7 separate regions of the Homo sapiens genome follow, and regions 1, 2, 3, 4, 5 and 7 are each linked to region 6. The links are contacts of gene promoters, found by promoter capture Hi-C in blood cells and fetal thymus (Javierre and others, 2016). All regions are on one chromosome and are shown on one strand. The core of a region is centred on a gene start or on the middle of the fragment in contact, and the rest is flanking DNA. Distances in the headings are between cores, read along the strand shown. Region 1 overlaps C2CD5 (C2 calcium dependent domain containing 5). Region 2 has its middle 77 kb from the start of ST8SIA1. Region 3 overlaps C2CD5 (C2 calcium dependent domain containing 5). Region 4 has its middle 3.4 kb from the start of C2CD5. Region 5 overlaps C2CD5 (C2 calcium dependent domain containing 5). Region 6 holds the start of LDHB (lactate dehydrogenase B). Region 7 overlaps C2CD5 (C2 calcium dependent domain containing 5).

Region 1 (2,700 bases), core at 175-2,674, 800 kb after region 6:
GATTCCGGAAATTTCCATCACCCACTGGACTTGCTTTTTCAACTGTCATGGCTAAAATTGGAGAAAAATGAGAAAACATTCAGAACAGACGCTGGTAACACAATTATTCCCTGAGGTTTCCAAATAAGTGGTGACAACATTCAGCTGTCTGTGAGGCTAAGCCATGTCATGAAAGAAAAGAAATTATCATGCACTGCATGCAATTAAAAAAGAGAGACAGAAAAACATGAGAGGAAATGCTGGAATGGAATTCTTTTGGAAGAAAAATGGCATTCCTGCAAAAGAAAATGTTGATGCAGTATAGCTACACACACAATGATTGGTTATAAAGTGAAGAAAAAGAAAAAGCGGCTGAGCATTAAAATTATCTGCTGTAGGAACAAATTATTACAAGGAGAGTGTGAAAGTTGTTCTATTTCCCAGTGCAATTTTTCCATCTTTTTCAGACGACTTCATCATTGTCAACTTGTAGATAAACCTTATGTTATCTAGTTGTAAGATACTGGTTTTTTCCAAACCTTTTTGAAAACCAACTCATAATTTTAAAAGCTTAACGACCTCTGCTAGCTAAAAGTTGGTTGTTTATAAAGTAAAAAAATAATAGCTACCACTTATTAAATAACTGCCATAAGCCAGACATATATATATATATCTAATCCTTACAACCACCCAAAAACACAGGTTATCATCATCATCCCCATTTCATGCATGAGGAAATGGAAGGTTAGAGAAGTTAAGTAACTTGCCCAAGGTCTCATAGCTATTAAAATGGCACTTCTAGGATTCAGAACCAGATCTGGCTGGTTTCACATCCTATATTATTTCCTGTGAAATGTAGTTTTTTCCCCCTTTTAATGTACGGTAAGCTCTTTCACTCAAATATATTTACCTCAAAATTTACCAAAACACATGGCATAAGATAACATATAAGTAATGATTCTGATTCTAGCAGTAAGGTAATAACTACTTTCTCACCATAAATTCTTTATTAGTTTAGCCCTCTGCATATCACACTTAATAAACCGACAGATGCCACATACTAAATAGTACCTTGGGTCCTGGAAGAATGTCTTTTCAATAAGAGAGTTGGCAATTTACTTCCAATTAGAATGATATAATATCTATTTATATACTTTTAAGAATACCTGCACAAAAAGGAAAATTTTAAAAACACAATTCTATAGGTAAAACTAATAAATCTAAAGGCCTTTCAAAAGCTTTTCCTAAATGACCGTTACAGTCTGCAGCTTTCACACTCTAATACATGATGGATTGGCAATGTTATTACTGGGTAGTAAGGTCTAGCTTTCACCACTGGGAAATCAGGGATATGTTTCTCAGATTATCATAATGTGGTAGAAACATCCGCCTACTTGTCTTAATTGATCCACGCCTTATGGTCTGAGCTTTCAGTTTAATGAGCTCTATCCAGCTGCTGCATCTGTCTGCAAAGGAACTGTAATCAACTGACGTTGCTGAAAACACAGACAGAAAACAAAAGAAAAAAACAAAGAAAAAAATATGGATGATGTCTCTTACTCGTCTTAACACTCCTTTCGATGATGTAATTTAACTGTAACTCAGAAAAAGAATGGTCCTTTTCAAGTCAGATAAGAGAGATAGTAAAGAGTCAAGCTTTAGACACTGATTTGTCCAAAACCAAGTTCTCAGTTAGCAGGCTGAGCATTTCTGGTGATGTCATAGTTGTGTGGTCTCCTAGGGAGAGCCTGAGTGGGGTCTAACATAAATATCAATGAAAGGACCACATACTGTGCTTTAACTAACTTTATTTCCTATTCTTCTTAATTTACAATATTTCAGTTGTTTCTATTTTATTTTATAATCAAAGCTTTGTGAATAATTCATTTCCCTAGTTTTACCCTAAAATTTTAAAAAAAGAGAATCAAATGTTGAAGAATATATTTTTAAAAGTTAGTAGTTGACTTATCTGTTATTAAAGTATCTTCTTTCTACAATCAGTAAGAGGAAAACCAAAGGGCCATTTTTGTTAATGTTTTGTTTCCATGTCTGATTTTGGGCAACAAAGCCTCTGATAATATGGGGTCAGGGCAGGTGTGAGCCTCACAAGTTCCCCCTTTTAAAAACAATAACTTTTACTACTGCTAAGCTGGAAAAAAAATTTTAAGGAGCTAAAATTTTATGCTTAGAAACTGGGAAACCATTAACATACTAAAAAATTTAAATATTAGTTTAATTGATGCTTTTAAAAGAACATATTCTACCTACAAAAAAAAAAAAGCCAGATTTTGGTGTCTATTCCATATTGTCCAGTGCATTTTCTTCAATGTCTATAATTTTATGCACCACCAAACTAGAATTTTACACCTTTGGTGACTATTTGCTTAATTAGACAAACTCACCTCTCTGTGCAGCTGGTATACCTGAGTTAGAACTTGCACTCTCCAGGTGTTCTAATAAGACAATATGAACAACATTAGCTCAGATGCTAAGTACAAGCCAGTACCTCTTCTTTGTTATTTGTTAATACCTCTATAAGCCAGAAGAATAGGAGGAAATCTTTATGGCTTCATTGCAAAAGCAAACCAAATAAAAGCATCTAGGTTTAAAATGCAGTTTCTATTGATAAATGAAAACTAGCTCAGTTCATAAATACCATGCCAAAGGAGACTACTTGCTTACTGTAACACAAAAAGAGTTTCAGAAACTTTATAGTCACAA
Region 2 (2,700 bases), core at 152-2,651, 750 kb after region 6:
AATTAGCGAGGCGTGGTGGCGGGTGCCTGTAGTCCCATCTACTCGGGAGGCTGAGGCAGGAGAATGTCGTGAATCTGGGAGGCCGAGCTTGCAGTGAGCCGAGATCGCGCCACTGCACTCCAGCCTGGGCGACAGAGCGACACTCTGGATCAAAAAAAAAAAAAAAAAAAAAAAGACAAGAAACTTTTCGGTCTAAGGACATATCATTTTGCTCTGATTTGGAGCTGTTGTCTATCATTCACAGTTTCCCCTAAATGCGGCTTCTATGCTTTAACGCTAATTGAATCTTGGCTAGCTGAGTCATTCCATTTTGCATCTGTATACTTGTATTACCTTGCTTCTAGAAAGACTGTGGTGAAATACTCACTTGGAGTCTGACTTCTCTGACTGGAGAAACTGGTATTTCCAGGTATTTTCCTACAGCAATAAACACATTCTTCCCATCTATTGCTGTGCCAATCTATTTTTTCAATGCCAGTACCAAGCCACACTGAGTGATTCATCTATTTTGTCAATGACTTCTATCCGTTGCTAGTGTCCTAGTAATCTAATAGCAAGCATATGGGAGTTTCAAGAAACTAGGTAACAAGATAGAGCTGAAAGGGAAAAAACATATAAACGAACTTTGAAGCAGATAAAACACCACTATTAAAATAATTATACACATATATATCCATACAAATATATATATAACTTTTTACTCTTTTGTAGATTTGTAGAAATATTTATTAAACAGTTAAAACATGAGGGATATCCAACCAAATACCAATCTAGGTGTTGCTGTGAAGATATTTTGTAGATGTGCAGTGATGAACAAGAGACACATTATTGCTACCGTACAGTGTTTGAAACAGAGGAAACCGGGACACTGGGAGAGAGTGGAAGATGCTGAGGTCAGAGAAGGAGTCAGGGGCTAATTCCTATAGGATCTTGCAGGATTTTAATTTCAGTCTAAATGTAATGAGAAAACACGGGGTGGTGGGGTTAATAGAGGGGGCTTGATCTGGGGAGCTCTATTATCTAGATGTTTCTATACAATTGTATCTGCTTTGTTGTGGACTTTTTAAAAACTTTTCTCTATAGTCAATGTGTGATAAAATTTTAAGATTTCTCATGGTCTTTGGACACTTAAACCTCAGACCGGTTTTGGAATATCCTTCCCTAAAAATTTTAACAAGGGACAAATTTAATAGAGAGACGACTGATCTGGGTGACCTCCTGAACCCCCTCCCAACATGTAATTCTGTATGTTGTGTTTTGAAAAGCTTCCATTTGTGCGATGCCTAGCATCTAATCTCAAAACTGTTCCCTGCAGTTGATAAGTGGTGTTTTTCATGCTCTTAAGTGGGAAATAGACCTCCATTTCGGGCCTAGCGTCTATACAGAAGCATAAGCCATAAAGACTTGCATTTTAACAGTTGATGCACTAAATAAATCTCTTATTCATGTTCCATTTTACTTGTTTGTCATTCATCTTATAATGAATTGTGTTAAATGCTTTGTCAGTTAAACTTCCCTAACTTGTTTTTCTTATTTCTTAAGCTTTTTCGAAAATGTTCAGTGCCTATATTATTATTATTATTATTATTATTATTACTATTTTGAGATAGAGTCTCGCTCTGTCACCCTGGCTGGAGTGCAGTGAGGCAATCTCGGCTCACTGCAACCTCCACCTCCTTGTTCAAGCGATTCTCGTGCCTCCGCCTCCTGAATAGCTGGGATTACAGGCATGTGCCACCACACCCAGCTAATTTTTGTATTTTTAGTAGAGACAGGGTTTCGCCATATTGGCCAGGCTGGTCTCAAACTCCTGACCTCAGCTGACCCACCCGCCTTGGCCTGCCAAAGTGCTGGGATTACAGGCGTGAGCCTCCACGCCCGGCCGCCTTTATTATTTAAAAAAAAAAAAAAAAAAAAAAAAAGTTGACCAGGAGCAAAAAGATTGTTTGAAACGCTCATTATATACATTAGCATACACGTGGTTTAAAATATAAAAGATACTTAGTTCTCCATAATCTAGGATTCTAGAAAGCTAGTTTACAATGAATAATGTATCTGGAAGAGGGTGGCTATTAGAACCTCTGGGGCTTTGCCATTTCAAATGAGAAAATATATTCTGTTCATAAGTGCATGGCATTTTCAGTGGTTGCAGAGACACCAATAACTAAGCACATTTGATTATAATATTAACAAAAAATTAGGCAGGGAACTTAGCAGTTTTTAATAAATTTAATACATTCAGAACTGGTAGGATAGAATAAGTATTCCTGAAGTGGTCTATAAAGTTTGAAATGGACTCCTTTCTAATCCTTCTTTGATTCTGACCTGAAAGTAGAATTGAAATTATGCTTGCAAGATTCCCACAGCTGTGTGGCTCTTTAGAACCAAGCCAAGTATAGAAAGAATCCAAGGGAAGTTTAAGCCGGCTTCTCTCTGTGTCACGTAACCAAAATCAAATCTTTCCCGAGGCAACAAACTACAATACATTATCTATTCTAGGATGGTTAAAAAAACAAATAAATAATAAAGCAAGATGTGATAATTTTAGTTAATAATGTACATCATTGTTCTTACTCAGTTCTCTGTGGAGGATCTCATAACCTAGGGAAAGAAACAGGAAGCAATTAACTACAATGGAGTCAGATACTTGAGGTAACAGAATAACATATGGGAAGCAAAGTAGACATGGATCCCAATTTT
Region 3 (2,700 bases), core at 59-2,558, 870 kb after region 6:
TATACACACACACACACACACACACACACACAGTGTATATATATTATACACAACTGTATACATAACAACTATATATACAACTGTGTATATATATACAGTATATATATAACTGTATATATACAACTATGTGTATATGTATACATACAACTGTGTATATATATATACACAACTGTGTGTGTATATATATTTAAAACTGAATATATATATATAACTGAATGCAATTAACAACTGATAAACAGGGTTAAAAAAAGTACTACATAATCAATGTTAACTATAAACACAAAGTTTTAAGTACATTTTTCACAGCATATATATTATTCGGGAAGACTAGTCAAAACAGTAACTTACTAAATTTTTTTTTTTTTTTAAGACGGAGTCTCACTCTGTCACCCAGGCTGGAGTGCAATGGCGTGATCTCGACTCACTGCAACCTCTGCCTCCCAGGTTCAAGCGATTCTTGGGCCTCGGCCTCCCACATAGCTGGGATTACAGGTTCACACCACCACACCCGGCTAATTTTTGTATTTTAGTAGAGACGGGGTTTCACTCTGTTGCCCAGGCTGGTCTTGAACCCTGGATCTCAGGTGATTCGCCTGCCTCGGCTTCCCAAAGTCCCAAGATTATAGCTGTGAGCCACTGCACCCAGCCACTAACTTAAGAAATTTTAAGGGAACTGCCTGGTAAATCCCTTATTTCAGAAAATAAATATATTATTTTTCATATTGTTAAGTAAGCTGCTTGAGTACTCACTAGCTTTAAAAAATACCAGTTTATTACCATCATCATTAAAATGAAATATCATTTTTTAATATTTCCTAGTATCATGAAAATTACTCTGACACATGAAGCTTGCCTCCTCCCACCATTCCAATAACAATGTAATGAAAACTATTCGTTTTTAACCATTTCTAGGTTATAGTTGGGGGGGAAAGGCTATCAAAATAAACTATATAAACATCCCAGTGTTTTGCCTGGGTAATGAAGATAGACTCTAATTCTAAATCCATCTGAAATCATGTAAGGAAGTTACTCTGATTATTTTTTGACACATATATTCCACACCTTTACCTTAATAATGTAGTTTAAAATGCCACAATAGACTCAATACATGTGCAACGGGTCTTTCAAAATAGATAGTGGCATTTTAGAAGCAGCTAAAAGAAAAATTTGTACATATACACAAAAGAAAATGAGAAGAGAATCAAAATATTTCACCATGAAAATATCAACTAAAAATATGAATTTGTAGGACTCTCACTTCCTGATTGCAAAACTCACTACAAAGCTATAGTAATCAAAACAGTATGGTAATAGTATAAAGACAGACATACAGACCAATGGAATGGAGTTGAGAGTGCGGAAATAAATCCTTACATCTATGTCCAACTGATTTTTTTTAACTTGCCTCAAAGGTAAAGTCCTAAACAATTTACTGACTTCCAGTTCAATGTTCTAGCAGATAACATGGAAGTCCATTTTAAAAGAGGAGGAGTTTACAGAAACTAGAAATTACCTTCCTTAGAGAGATCCATTTGCTTGAAAACCTTTGGGTAAAAGCTACTGGGAGGTTAAGAATAACTGTTTCTATAACTGAGTCCTTTTGACAGAAGACTGAGACACAGCCAAGCTACTCTGATGAGGTCGTAATTTTGAGAAACACAGTTATATTCCACAGAGATAATAAATAAAAGCTGTCACTGTCCATAAATGCTGAGTCTACAGACGAGGTACACCTTTCTTATACAAACTGAGATTTAATTTTAGCAACAAAAGCTTTTCAAACTGCAGTTCTATTTTTTTAGCACACCTACACCACTCAGACTAATTAAACTATACATTAACGAAAGAACAGAAGATATACCCCAAAATGCTAATATTTAAACCCACTTTCTGCCAAACGCTGAATGTCTATCCAAAATGCTGAGTGATTTAAAAATATTATTCCCAGGCCGGGCATTACGCCTGTAATCCCAGCACTTTGGGAGGCCAAGGTGGGTGGATCACCTGAGGTCGCGAGTTTGAGAACAGCTTGACCAACATGGAGAAACCCTGTCTCTACTAAAAATACAAAATTAGCCAGGTGTGGTGGCGCATGACTGTACTCCCAGCTACTCAAGAGGCTGAGGCAGGAGAATCGCTTGAACCTGAGAGGCAGAGGTTGCAGTGAGCCAAGATCCCACCATTGCCCTCCAGCCTGGGCAACGGGAGTGAAACTCCGTCTCAAAAAAAAAAAAAAGTTTACATATATTATTCTCTTTTTTTTGACTAGTGCAACTCATATTAACATACAGCAACATGCTTCATAGCCACCTCAATACTACTCTGGAAAGAATTCATGTTTGAAAAAAAACAGAGGCTCCAAATGGTAAGGCTGTCTGAGGTCATCTGCAAATTAGCAGGCACCAGAAATAGAATTTGTTTTCTCTTAATCCAGACCTTTAAGCTTTTCCAATAGAGGGCAGCTATGCAGTATCCCAACCACTACAGAATGTGCCTTCCAACACTAAAAGAAAGATCACGGTCCTAATATAAACCATAAGCAAAGCAGCGCCTAAAAATCGTAGTGTCATTTCTTCCATCTTCAGGTATCAGTTTGGCAGGTTCCCCAGCATGATCAAAGCATCTTTCAAGCAAATCAATACTTTCCTTCCCTTGTTCTCTTTCACTGAAGAATGACACCTTACCCTGCAAGAGCTAAAC
Region 4 (2,846 bases), core at 39-2,538, 890 kb after region 6:
AGCACATACCACCATGCACCGCTAGTTTTTTAAATTTTTTGAAGAGATGGAGTCTCCCTGTATTGCCCAGGCTGGTCTCAATCCTGGTTTAAGCCATCCTCCTGCCTTGACCTCACAAAGTGGTGGGATTACAGGCATGAGCCATCTTGCCCGGCATGATCAGTGTTTTTTGTTGTTTTGGGTGGTAGAGTTGAAGTCGTTTTTGTGGTGAAATCGAAGTATTACCGTATTACCAACTCATTTTTTAAAATATGAAATGTATAAAGAAAAAATATTAGAAAATTGAAGTTTAGCACCAATATTAATGGAAAATAATGCATTGTGTTCCAAAATGTAAAAAGTTGCAAATTGCACAATTAGAGGTTAGCAATCTCAGCCTCCTAATTAGTAGACTTTGAGGTACTTGTACGTACTTGTTGCCTTAGGCTTCATCAACAAGAGATTATAATTAAGATGCTTCCTGAAAACTATTTTTAGTAGATTTAAGCCTGACTTCAGTTGAACTGTTTCCTAATAATTGTTCTCGTTTGTTTTCATTAATGCTGGGAACAGTGCTAACTTTCTGACAAATCTACCATGATGTGACTCCTGATTACCTTGTTTAGCTTCATACCCTGACACTCTTTTTGCATTTTAAATTATCAATAACAAGAATTAACGTGTATTGATGGTTTGCCGCACACCAGCTACTGAATTCAGCGTTTCACAGCTGTTAAGGCTCCCTAAAATCCTGAGGTAGGAATTATCAGCCTTCATTTTATAAATGAGAAAATTATGGCTTTTCAAAGCTCTGGTGATTACCCAAGGTCACAAAGCTTCTAATGATAGAGGCAGGTTTTAAATCTAGACAATGTGATTCCAAGAACTCACGTCTTTGAAGATTACATGTAGTTTTCTAATAAACTATACTTTTCCTTCTTCCTGGAGTATCTCTCTCATAGTCATCCTACCAAATAGCTATGAATTCATAACTCAGTTCAAAAGTCAATACTCTGGTTTCTCTTTAGAGTGTATAAATCTTTTGCCTTTTACAAAAGTCACTTCTACATCTTCTCTAATCTCCTTCCTAATAAATATGCTCTTCACTCCCACCTATGCTACTACTAAATCTAATACATTTGTTATTATACTTTCCATGCAATAATTATTTATCCATCTCTCTCCCCCCCAACCCCCACTAAACCATGAGCACTCTGAGGGAATGGATTGCTTCTCACTCATCTCTCAATTCTCAGTTCTTTGTCCTGTGCCCTTCATGTGATCAACAAATTATTGTGGAATTAAATTAACAGTTAACACTTGCTATTACTACTTAGATTGCTCTTCTTTCCTGGCTTCCTAAAATGTTCCTGTTAATCTTTCCCATTCTTTCAGGTTAAATTACTCAAGGGTTGTCAGTACTTGGTGCCCTCTCCTCACTTCCTAAGCGCTCCAAAAACTATTAATATCTGGGTTTAGCCACCACCACTCTACAAAAACAGCTTTCACTAATGCCATCAATAACCTCTGGTTGCTAAATGCAATGAACACTTTTTTTAGTTTTAAGTTTTTATTTTTGAGATGGGGTCTTGCTGTGTTGCCCAGACTGGTCTCAAACCCTTGGGTTCATGCAGTCCTTCTGCCTCAGGCTCCCAAGTTGCTGAGACTACAGGCACGTGCCACCATGCCTGGCTTCAGTTTTTTATTTACGTGACTCTCAGTAGCATTTGATGCTGTTGACCACGCTGTCCTTAAAATAATCTTCCTCTTGGTATTCAGAAACCAAGCTTCTCTTACCTATTCTGGTTTATACATCTGTCTTCTCAGCCTACTCATTGTCCTTAACTATTAAATATGTGTTTTTCTCAGGTTCAGTTTTTGTCTCTATTCTCTTCCAACTGTACTGTCTCCCTAGGTGATCTCATCCAAGCTCACAATTTTAATTTCCATCTGTTTAGTCAGGGACTCTCAAATCGTTATCTTTAGTCTGTAACTCGCTTCTGGGATCTTGACCCATATATGCAACTGCCAAGTTACTATTTCCATTTGGAGTATCAAAGTGACCTCAAAAGTCAAGATGTCCAAAAGTGACCTCAAAAGTCAAGATGTCCAAAACTGACCTGATTTTCTTTACCTTTCCCATAACTACAACAACGAGAATGACAACAACAACAACAAAAGACCTGGTAGTCTTCTACTAAACAGCAATGCCAACTACATAGTCAATTGCTCAAGCCAGAAACTCACTGATTTAAGTTTGAAAGTGGGCTGGGATTACAAGTATAATTATACAAATGACAACTTGGGCTCAGTTCAGTTACTTTTGCTTTGATTTTTTTTTTTCCTTTGGGCCAGGGTCCCACTCTGTTACCCAGGCTACAGTGCGGTGGCAAGATCACAGTTCACCACAGCCTCAACCTCCCAGGCTCAGGTGATCCTCCAACCTTAGCCTCCTGAATAGCTGGGACTGCAGGCGCACACCACCACATCTGGCTAATTTTTATATTTTAGTAGAGATGAGGTCTCCCCATGTTGCCCAGGCTGATCTCGAACTCTTGGGCTCAAGTGATCTGCCTGCCTCATCCTCCCAAAGTGCTAGGATTGCAGGTGTGAGCCACCATGTGGCTCACTTTTGCTTTGATTAAGGAGTAAAAATGAGATAAGTAGGCATCTAGGTAAACTCATCATCTTATTAGTTCCCTTGTATCTTAATGTACCATGGGCATAAGGTACCATACCATACTTAATGTACCATGGGCATAAGGACTGCATCAAGTAAAATATTCTCTAAATTGGAAGATTATTGCAGTGGAACACATTGCTTTTTTTGGGAGTTTTGCTCTTGTTGCCCAGGCTGGAGTGCAATG
Region 5 (2,925 bases), core at 40-2,539, 850 kb after region 6:
CTAGTGGAAAGAATAAGGGAAAAATACAACTTATCGTGTGTAGAGTGTAAAAAATTTGCTTATTAAAAAGCTTGCCATAGCAACTGTATTACATCCCTTGAAATAAAAGGCCACCCATTACACATCACACATGCTTTGTAATTAAAAGTTTAATTAAATGTTTAGAGTTTCAAATCCATTTCCCCATATATACAATGTTATACAGAATCCAAAGACCCATTTCATCAGTTCTCAATGAAGAAAAAAAAAGTGTTCCTTCAATTTAAGATATTTGAAACACACTCTTCCTTCCTCTGAATCTCCAACTCTGATGGAACTTCTCAATGAGATGAGGGAACTGCCCTATCCCTCTTCCCCTTTATCTATCAGTGGTTTAGACACCCCCTTCACATGAACACCCAGTATAAGACACTGGTAAAGACTCTAAAAACCTGGGGCCAAGGGATCTAAATGAAAGTGGGACCAAAGGAGGATAAGTGAGAGGATAAGCAGTGTGGGTTAAGAGAAAGAGGATAGTGGCAAATATCAAGTTGAGATGGGTAGAGAATCATTGTGTGAGGTTACTCTATCAACACCAATGTGGCAGGAACAAATACAAGTGCATAAAGGTACATTAAGGAAAGTTGAAAGGTACATAGATAACAGCTAGGAAGGCAATAAAATTCCACAAGTTCTTGCAAGCTTTATTCTATCCTTCTCTCTTAAAGAATAAAATTCATCAACTTAGAGACAAAGAGAAACACAAAAAAGACAAATGAAAAAGCCAAGAAAGGAAATTCATTGAAATAGGACCCAATAAGAAAACGGAGCTCCTGTGAAAACATGGAGGCCCCTCACATTACACAAATTGGATGCAAGTAAGGAAAACTTGATGTTTGACCTGTCTGGCTGCAAGATTAATGTAGCTCACTTAACTGGAATCACTTACCAGTAGCCTCAGCTATTTAGAACATAATTGAGCATAATTGAGAAAAATAAGCAAAACAGGGCTCTCAACGGTCAAAAGAACTGTTACGGTCTCAAGCTCTAAAGCTCATATACTTTATTCATAGGAGACTCCCACAGATCATATTCATACTATATTATAGTAGTTATAAATTTTTATCTTAAAAAGAAACAACTCTAAAATTTATCATGATCTCATTTTCAAGACCACCTCAGATTAAATGCAACAAATAAAAGCTGGTAAAGAGATACAGAATACCACCAGAAGCAGGCTTATTAAAAGCAGCAAGAATTATTCACTGGCTGCTTCAAGCATGGAGAATACAAACTCACAAAAGCATGATCACAAAGCACGGCAACTTGGAATCATTTTGCACAAAAGCTATCAGTCCTGTGCACCTCAGTAACCCATGAAGGTTGAGTATAAAAAAGTTTCTAAAATTTATTTAGAAATAAATTCAGTTCAAATTTAGAAGTAATCTTTAAACAAGAGAAAGAAAAATCTATGCTATGTAAGAAAAGAGTAAAAAACTGGTCTATGGAAGTGGTTAGGTATAGCCCAGCAGAAAGGTAGAGGGAAAATAAGGAAGAGGATGGAAGGAGAGTACGTCACTTATAATAAATGTATTATAATATGTTTAGTCAAAATGCATCCTTATTTCCATTTAAACTTCTTTTTCTGTCCTCTAAGTTTTGTTCCTGGAAATCTAATAAAAATTGTACAAACTAGAGGATTACCTCATAATGAATTCATATTTATTATTAGGAAATTTGAATGTAAATGAAGTTTTGAGTCATAAAAATATTCGAATGGATTTATTGTTAGGCACAGCACACACGGGGTAATTACACAATATAAGTATTAAGAAAGAAGTTGGGAAAACAGTTCGGTAATCACTGAGCAAGTACATTTGAACTTTGTAAATGTGAGTTTTAAATGAGAAACGTATAGGTAAGCTTATATTATTAATAATGTAGTTAGGTCTTTCAGATTTTTTTTTCAGTGTTAGGATCACTTAAATTTTAATATTTCCTCAAAATATCTGAGGCATGTGGTGGTCTCACAGAATAAAAAATCACTTTATATGTAATCTTTATACTTAAATCTTTTTTTTTTTTTTTTGAGACGGAGTCTCGCTCTGTCGCCCAGGCCAGACTGCGGACTGCAGTGGCGCAATCTCGGCTCACTGCAAGCTCCGCTTCCCGGGTTCACGCCATTCTCCTGCCTCAGCCTCCCGAGTAGCTGGGACTACAGGCGCCCGCCACCGCGCCCGGCTAATTTTTTGTATTTTTTTAGTAGAGACGGGGTTTCACCTTGTTAGCCAGGATGGTCTCGATCTCCTGACCTCATGATCCACCCGCCTCGGCCTCCCAAAGTGCTGGGATTACAGGCGTGAGCCACCGCGCCCAGCCTTAAATCTTTTAAATATCTAGACAAGAGATACTGAAAATAACATTTTTGTAAGCTAAATGGAAGATAGTACTTCCTTTTTCCTTCTAAAGAAATAGGTAAATTATGTATTAGAAAATATTTTCATATAAGATTTTACATAAGTATGAATAAATGAACCTAAATGACTTCTCAATTCAGGGTTCTTTACCCTTCTCCCCAAAGTTCTTTGTTTGGGATAAAGAAACGAGGGCAAGCATTGTACTAGAGCTGGTCAGAAAGAAACACACAGGGCGATGGCTGCCCATTGAGGCCACGACCCACTCTCCACCTCACATGTCCCCAGTTCACCTAATCGGCACACCAATTCACTCTAAAACACAAAATTTAACCTATAATAAATAAAAATGTCATTGTTATTTAACCAAAACTCCGTCTTCATACAATTCTCTCATGAGAAGAGCTACTGCTGAAATCTATAGCAGATTGTTAAGTACCTATCATCACCACCATAACTAGCAACTACTGTCAAGTACTTCTATGTGCCAGGCCCTGTAGCTTGTGCTGTATAACCTTTCCCATATGAGGGA
Region 6 (2,763 bases), core at 27-2,526:
AGTGGCTATATAAATACAGATTCGTTGTTCTGATAGACCTTTTAATTTAGAAAACTTCAGGAAGTACAATTTAAAGGCTCGAACCAGATTTTCTTTCAGATATTTCTGGAGAAAGTGCTTTTCTTCAATTTTTCCTTAAAAAGAGTTTTAAGAAATGAGAAGAAAATGGTCTGCATGATATACAGGCCTGTGCCAACATCAGAGTGCAGGCTGTAAGGAACAAGAACGACAAACGGTAAAAATCTCTGAGTCTTGGTCCCTTATGTCTCCTCACTGCTGTGGATATAAATCATTAGAAATAAAGGAGCGCCTTAATTTCAGGAACAAAGATCTTCTTTGCAGAATCTTTCTCACCGTAATCTTTTAAAAATTCAGGTTTTGCTTTTGAATTCCTCCCCTCCCCCCATTCCCCAGGCCCTTACTGCAGCTTGTACTGCTCGCGGTGCGCACAAACCATCTTTTCCTCAGGGCACCGGCAGCAAAGAACAGCAGATCACGAGGGCATGCAGAAGCTAGAGATCTCCCCGAGTAAGGTCTGTGGGGACAAGTCTAGGACTTCCTTACTCGGAGCACCCAAGGCTGGTAAAGTAAACGAAGCCCCTAAGCATCCAGAAAAGAGGCCCTGCAGGAAAGAACTGGCGCATGGCTCCTGGAAAGACCGTCAGAGCCGGGTAAAAATAAGTGCAGCGCCAAACGTGCTGGTCATCTAGGTGCCTTTCTCCTCATCCCAGCGAGTGCAAGGGCATTTCTCTATTACCGTGGCAATATATTCAAATATTCGAGGTAAAGATCGTCCAGCCTTCATAGGCCACCTGGTTCCGTCCCCCTCCCCCAGCTACTCGGGCACGTGTCCCGACTCCCGCCAGCAGGCCGTGGGGGTGATGTGGCCGCCATGAACCCACCAAGGACAAGTAGGGCCTGGTTTTAGCTGCAAATGCAACAAGTCTCTCCGCTGAGCCGCAGCTGCTACCCTCTGCCTTCTGCTCCTCCGCCAGGGCACGGCCCCCCCTGCGCCCCAAACTGAGCGGCAAAGTCAGGGCCCGCGGCCGGATGCTCAGAGCTAAAGGCCGCGGAGGACAGATGTGCTTCTTCCTCCTTCCCGCGTCTCCCCATACAAGTACTACCCCGCACGTCCCATCAGGCTTGCCTGTGGGCCAGGATTCAGGGTCCTGAGCCGAAACCTACCAGGAGAGAGAAGGCTCTGGAGACCTCTGTAACAGTCGTGCGGAGAAGACAAAGTCAGCTGCGTGCGTCTCCTCCGGCGCCGGCTCTGCAAGGAGGGAGGAGGGGGCGGGGCCCCACAACCACCGCAGCCTCTTAGGTTTCTCCATTGTGATTGGAAATCCGAGTACCGCCTACCCCTCCCCTCGGCTCGCTCAATCCCCTTCAAGGACAAGGGCTCAAGTATGCACACTCCCTCCCCCACCCTCCAGATGAGGAGGTCTCCTTCCAGAGGCTTCCGCTCTCAGCTGGTCTCACATCTCGCAGGCTCTTCAATGCGGAGGCCAAGTTATTTATAAAACTTGCCCATCCCCGACTCTTCTGGACTTTAACGCTCTTGTTCTATTAGATTTAGTACAAATAGAAATAAATTTCTTTCCTTCTTTTTTTTATTTTGAGACGGAGTCTCACTCTGTCGCCCAGGCTGGAGTGCAGTGGCGCGATCTCGGCTCACTGCAAGCTCCGCCTCCCGGGCTCACGACATTCTCCTGCCTCAGCCTCCCGAGTAGCTGGGACTACAGGCGCCCGCCACCTCGCCCGGCTAATTTTTTGTATTTTTAGTAGAGAGGGGGGTTTCACCGTGTTAGCCAGGATGGTCTCGATCTCCTGACCTCGTGATCCGCCCGCCTCGGCCTCCCAAAGTGCTGGGATTACAGGCCTGAGCCACCGCGCCCGGCCAGAAATAAATTTCTATGTTGCATTTCAGTTAAACTTTAAAGGACTTAAAAAAATACATCTGAATTTAGATCATCTCCGTTTTAAAGTTCATTTGATGAAAATGACTATTTTTTTCAACCTGTTTCAACAAACACGCAATGATTGCTTACTCGTTGCCTGACAAGACCAATGAGGCTTTGTCCCTGCCATCTGAAGTTCCCCTACAATTCCACCTGGTCTCAAGGTCAGGCTTTGCCCTCTAGGGGAAATGTGGGACCACTAAGTGAGATGCACTTTCTTTTTTAGTCCCTAATCGACTCCAAAGCTGGATGTTGTCATTCATTCTGTCTTCAACACTCAGCCAGTGCTTGGTACCTAAATATAGCATTGATGAATAAATGAATGAATGATAAATTGGAGGAATTCTGAAGAGTCTGGCTTCAGTTCTGTTTTCTTATAATTAAAATGCTTTCAAATATAGCCATCTCACAAACTTCCTGTATGTGAAGTGTTTTTTTTTGTAAATGCATATTTCTTGTATATGACCACTAATTCTATAATTATTGCTTCAGTTTATTCTCAGTGCCAAGCATTGGTAAAAAACATAAATATAAGATTATGCCCTTTGAGGTGTTCCTAGTCCATTGGAGACAGACAAGTAGGCAACCTATTTCAATTACAATAAGTGGCAATAGAAATTTGGTTAAAGTACAATAAAAATTCAGAGTAAAGAATCACTAAGAGAAGGGTTTGTTGAGAAGAATTCATAAGCCTCAAACTCTCCTAGCATAAATCATTCAGCTAGTGGGGACTTTGACTGAAGATACAGTCCAATTACAAATTAAAATGTGATGGTGAGGAAAAGAGCTTGGAGGATAATCTCAA
Region 7 (2,853 bases), core at 245-2,744, 820 kb after region 6:
TACATCACCATATTCCACTGTGAATAATAAATAGGGAAACTATCCAGCTGGACAGGCGCTGACATTCATCTGCACCTCAGTTTCTAAGTCCTAACCTGCAGACTCGCTAAGCTTCTTCCCACATCACCCTCAGGACTTCAAGAACCACTTTCACTTCCACTTCACGTGGCTACCCACAGTCACAGCCATACCTCAACCCATTATTCCCCAAAACGTTCCACACCCAGGATCTCGAGCATTCTCCAACTACAGTCCTGTCTCTTTGTCCTCTCTTACTGGATATTCCACTTGCCCTCTGTCCTCTGCCCATGTTTGAAGCACTTTGTTCTCATGTGCCTCTCTACTTAGCCAGGATCCCAAGATCAGACTTATCAATAATGCCCTAGATCAAACTTCAGGTAATGTTTGGCATCACCTGGAAAGTTTGTTAAACAGATTCCTGGGCTCCACCTTGAAATTCTCATCTACTAGGTCTGAGGTAGGGGCCCAAGAATTTGCATTTCTTACAAGCTCCCAGGTAGAGCTGACGCCACAAGTAGGCACATCACACTTTGAGTAGCATTGCTGTAAATAGTACCCTGGAACTTTTAACCTCCTTGACCTGAGATATTTTCCATGACATATTTTCCATTCTCAGACTGTAGAGAAATGTGGGGAAAAAGTGGGGGGCAAATAACCATATAAGTTGAGTTTTCTACAAACTGACACTCTCACCTTGGTTAGGCCTGTGCGTCTCTCATAGATCCTTGTTACAGCCACTGGCACCGTTCCTGACTCTTTAAACCTCCAATCCCATCCCAACACAATTCTACCACCAGCTTCCTGCTACACCAAGATCAAAGCATCTGATTTTTCTCTCTCTCAACTTACATCTTAATCATTTATTTTCCTTTCCTTCAATATGAAAAAGAAAAATCTATCTCTTTGGGAGCTAACCATTCTACAGGGGAGTGCAGAGGAAGCAGATCTGTGAGGAAGGAGTCTCCATAAACTTTTCATGTGACATTTACTCTCTGGGAAAGTTACTAAAGTGTTCTTAGTATCTTTTTATAAAGATGGATCAATTATACCTTTTGAATTCAGTAAGAAAATACTACACTCAGAATTCACAGTGATTATACTAAAAAATGTTATAACTACAGTAATATACAAAAAAGGTAATAATTATAGTAAGTTAAAGAATGGCACTTCATTTAAATTCATTCAAGTTTACAAAAATAACTTCAAAGGTTTAATACTATTCTATCATTATTTCAACCCATACATTAACTTTTTCAGAACCATCTGCATTATTGTATCAGTGACCTGGTATTGAACAAACATATGTTACCAAGTTCTGTTATTTTCAAGTTTGTTGTATTTTTATATAATAACTTTTTAAATATTTATAACAGTTGTAATGATATAAAAGTATCATATTAATTTAGCACGTGAAAAAATGTGTATCTTAGCTTCCAAAACCTTTAAGAAATTAGTCCAATGCCACATTACCTCCAAAACAAAAGCATCTTTTTTCCCATGTGAAAGGTCTAATTCTGTAACTTCATCCGAGCTTTCTGATTGAGATCTTAGAAGTCTTGAGCGTTGCCTAGGTTCTGGGATGGGTGATCCTATAATCTCTTCAGATATCTCCTAAAAGAAATATAATTGTTTTATATCATATGAGATTGTCTTTTCCAGTTTAAATTTTACATCTTTATATTAGTAGACACCTACCTGTGGAGAAAAAGCCTGTAAAATATACTCAGTGAAGTCCGTACTTAAGTATAACCTTTAAAACTAAACTTTTATAGCAGATATGGCAGCCTTAATGATACACGAATCAGAAAAATATATATAACTGTCACAGACATAACAAGATAAAACTGACATCTAGTGTACACACAGGACACTACAATGTGTATGGAATTGGCAGTCCTTACAGCTCTGAAATCCAGTACTGCTGTGTGTGCATATTTTCTATTCAGCATTATAAAAGTCCTAATAGGCCTTAAAAATTTAAAGACTTATGTTCCTAGAAAGAATTCTAATCTTTTATATATTTTCTTATCCACTTTCAAAGCTCCATATAGCAAAATGTGAAATATGATCAATGTATGAGTATGAATACATATATACTTATACTATGCACATATTTGCTATTCAATTTATTAAGCTAAATAAACATTGGTACTTACAATAATGATCTTTTTAAGGTCAGTGTATGGTGCAATACTGTATGGCTTAGTGAGCTTTTTGCTGTTACATAGCCAAAGATCACTAGGGGTTCTAAGTGTCTGTCGGCCACAAGGAATGCTGGAAGAATATGAATACGTGAACGCAAAAGCAAAAGCCATAGCCTATTGCTGATGCAACAGAATTGTCTTTTTAATAAACAAGGAAATTGTACATAAAATTTTTCAAAAATATATAGTTTTAAATGTTCATTGGTAGTATGCACCTTAGATAAAAGACTACCACTGCACAATTTCATAATGTAATGATCTATGGAGCACTTTCACATCAATTTATCTTATTTGTACTCCAAATTAATCTGCCCTCTATAAAGTTAACATTATAATAACTACAAAATGGAAAAGAGCTGTAATTCAGAAGTAAATTAGTAGTCTGCCTAAATTTGGAAAACTAGCAAGTGTAGAGCCAGTCTAGGTCAGTCTTTTGACACACAGTGCAACGTTATTCCCACTAGATACCACACTACTTTTTATAATTTTACAATAGTTTTAAATTCTGTTATGCCTTTGTTCACAATGCCACAGACTTAACAAATATAACTGTCTGGTATTTAATATGTTCTAGATTCATACTGAAATTTCATCACTAGTACTGTTATTCTGAGAGATGTGCATCTTA

What was found. Contacts are between HindIII fragments. The CHiCAGO score rates a contact against its expected background, and 5 or more counts as called.
Region 1: a contact is called between a fragment that was not itself captured here and the fragment with the promoter of LDHB in region 6, in 7 of 17 cell types (total B cells, M1 macrophages, total CD8 T cells and 4 more). The highest score is 6.6, in total B cells.
Region 2: a fragment that was not itself captured here is called in contact with the fragment with the promoter of LDHB in region 6 in 2 of 17 cell types (activated CD4 T cells and non-activated CD4 T cells); the score reaches 7.1 in activated CD4 T cells.
Region 3: a fragment that was not itself captured here is called in contact with the fragment with the promoter of LDHB in region 6 in 4 of 17 cell types (naive CD8 T cells, fetal thymus, total CD4 T cells and 1 more); the score reaches 7.0 in naive CD8 T cells.
Region 4: a contact is called between a fragment that was not itself captured here and the fragment with the promoter of LDHB in region 6, in 5 of 17 cell types (fetal thymus, naive CD8 T cells, activated CD4 T cells and 2 more). The highest score is 7.1, in fetal thymus.
Region 5: a fragment that was not itself captured here is called in contact with the fragment with the promoter of LDHB in region 6 in 6 of 17 cell types (non-activated CD4 T cells, activated CD4 T cells, total B cells and 3 more); the score reaches 9.5 in non-activated CD4 T cells.
Region 7: a fragment that was not itself captured here is called in contact with the fragment with the promoter of LDHB in region 6 in 6 of 17 cell types (total CD4 T cells, naive B cells, total CD8 T cells and 3 more); the score reaches 7.8 in total CD4 T cells.

Annotation. Positions count from the first base shown.
Region 1 is chr12:22,457,111-22,459,810 of GRCh38, forward strand. C2CD5 (C2 calcium dependent domain containing 5) reads right to left here. Exons shown (of 27, transcript NM_001286176.2): 23 at 2,382-2,432; 24 at 1,374-1,475; 25 at 1-51. Among named protein-coding and RNA genes, the nearest start is that of C2CD5, 86 kb to the right of the region's middle. The HindIII fragment of the contact is 418 bases long and covers 1,216-1,633 here.
Region 2 is chr12:22,410,288-22,412,987 of GRCh38, forward strand. No RefSeq gene overlaps it. Among named protein-coding and RNA genes, the nearest start is that of ST8SIA1, 77 kb to the left of the region's middle. The HindIII fragment of the contact is 277 bases long and covers 1,264-1,540 here.
Region 3 is chr12:22,530,109-22,532,808 of GRCh38, forward strand. The region is part of intron 3 of C2CD5 (C2 calcium dependent domain containing 5); the gene reads right to left. Among named protein-coding and RNA genes, the nearest start is that of C2CD5, 13 kb to the right of the region's middle. The HindIII fragment of the contact is 925 bases long and covers 847-1,771 here.
Region 4 is chr12:22,546,568-22,549,413 of GRCh38, forward strand. No RefSeq gene overlaps it. Among named protein-coding and RNA genes, the nearest start is that of C2CD5, 3.4 kb to the left of the region's middle. The HindIII fragment of the contact is 951 bases long and covers 814-1,764 here.
Region 5 is chr12:22,506,820-22,509,744 of GRCh38, forward strand. All of the region lies in intron 9 of C2CD5 (C2 calcium dependent domain containing 5), which reads right to left. Among named protein-coding and RNA genes, the nearest start is that of C2CD5, 36 kb to the right of the region's middle. The HindIII fragment of the contact is 1,221 bases long and covers 680-1,900 here.
Region 6 is chr12:21,656,566-21,659,328 of GRCh38, forward strand. LDHB (lactate dehydrogenase B) reads right to left here and starts at 1,277. Exons shown (of 8, transcript NM_002300.8): 1 at 1,186-1,277. RefSeq lists enhancers at 829-918, 949-1,198, 1,176-1,704, 1,579-1,758. The HindIII fragment of the contact is 8,571 bases long and covers 1-2,763 here.
Region 7 is chr12:22,473,260-22,476,112 of GRCh38, forward strand. C2CD5 (C2 calcium dependent domain containing 5) reads right to left here. Exons shown (of 27, transcript NM_001286176.2): 16 at 1,492-1,632. Among named protein-coding and RNA genes, the nearest start is that of C2CD5, 70 kb to the right of the region's middle. The HindIII fragment of the contact is 2,771 bases long and covers 110-2,853 here.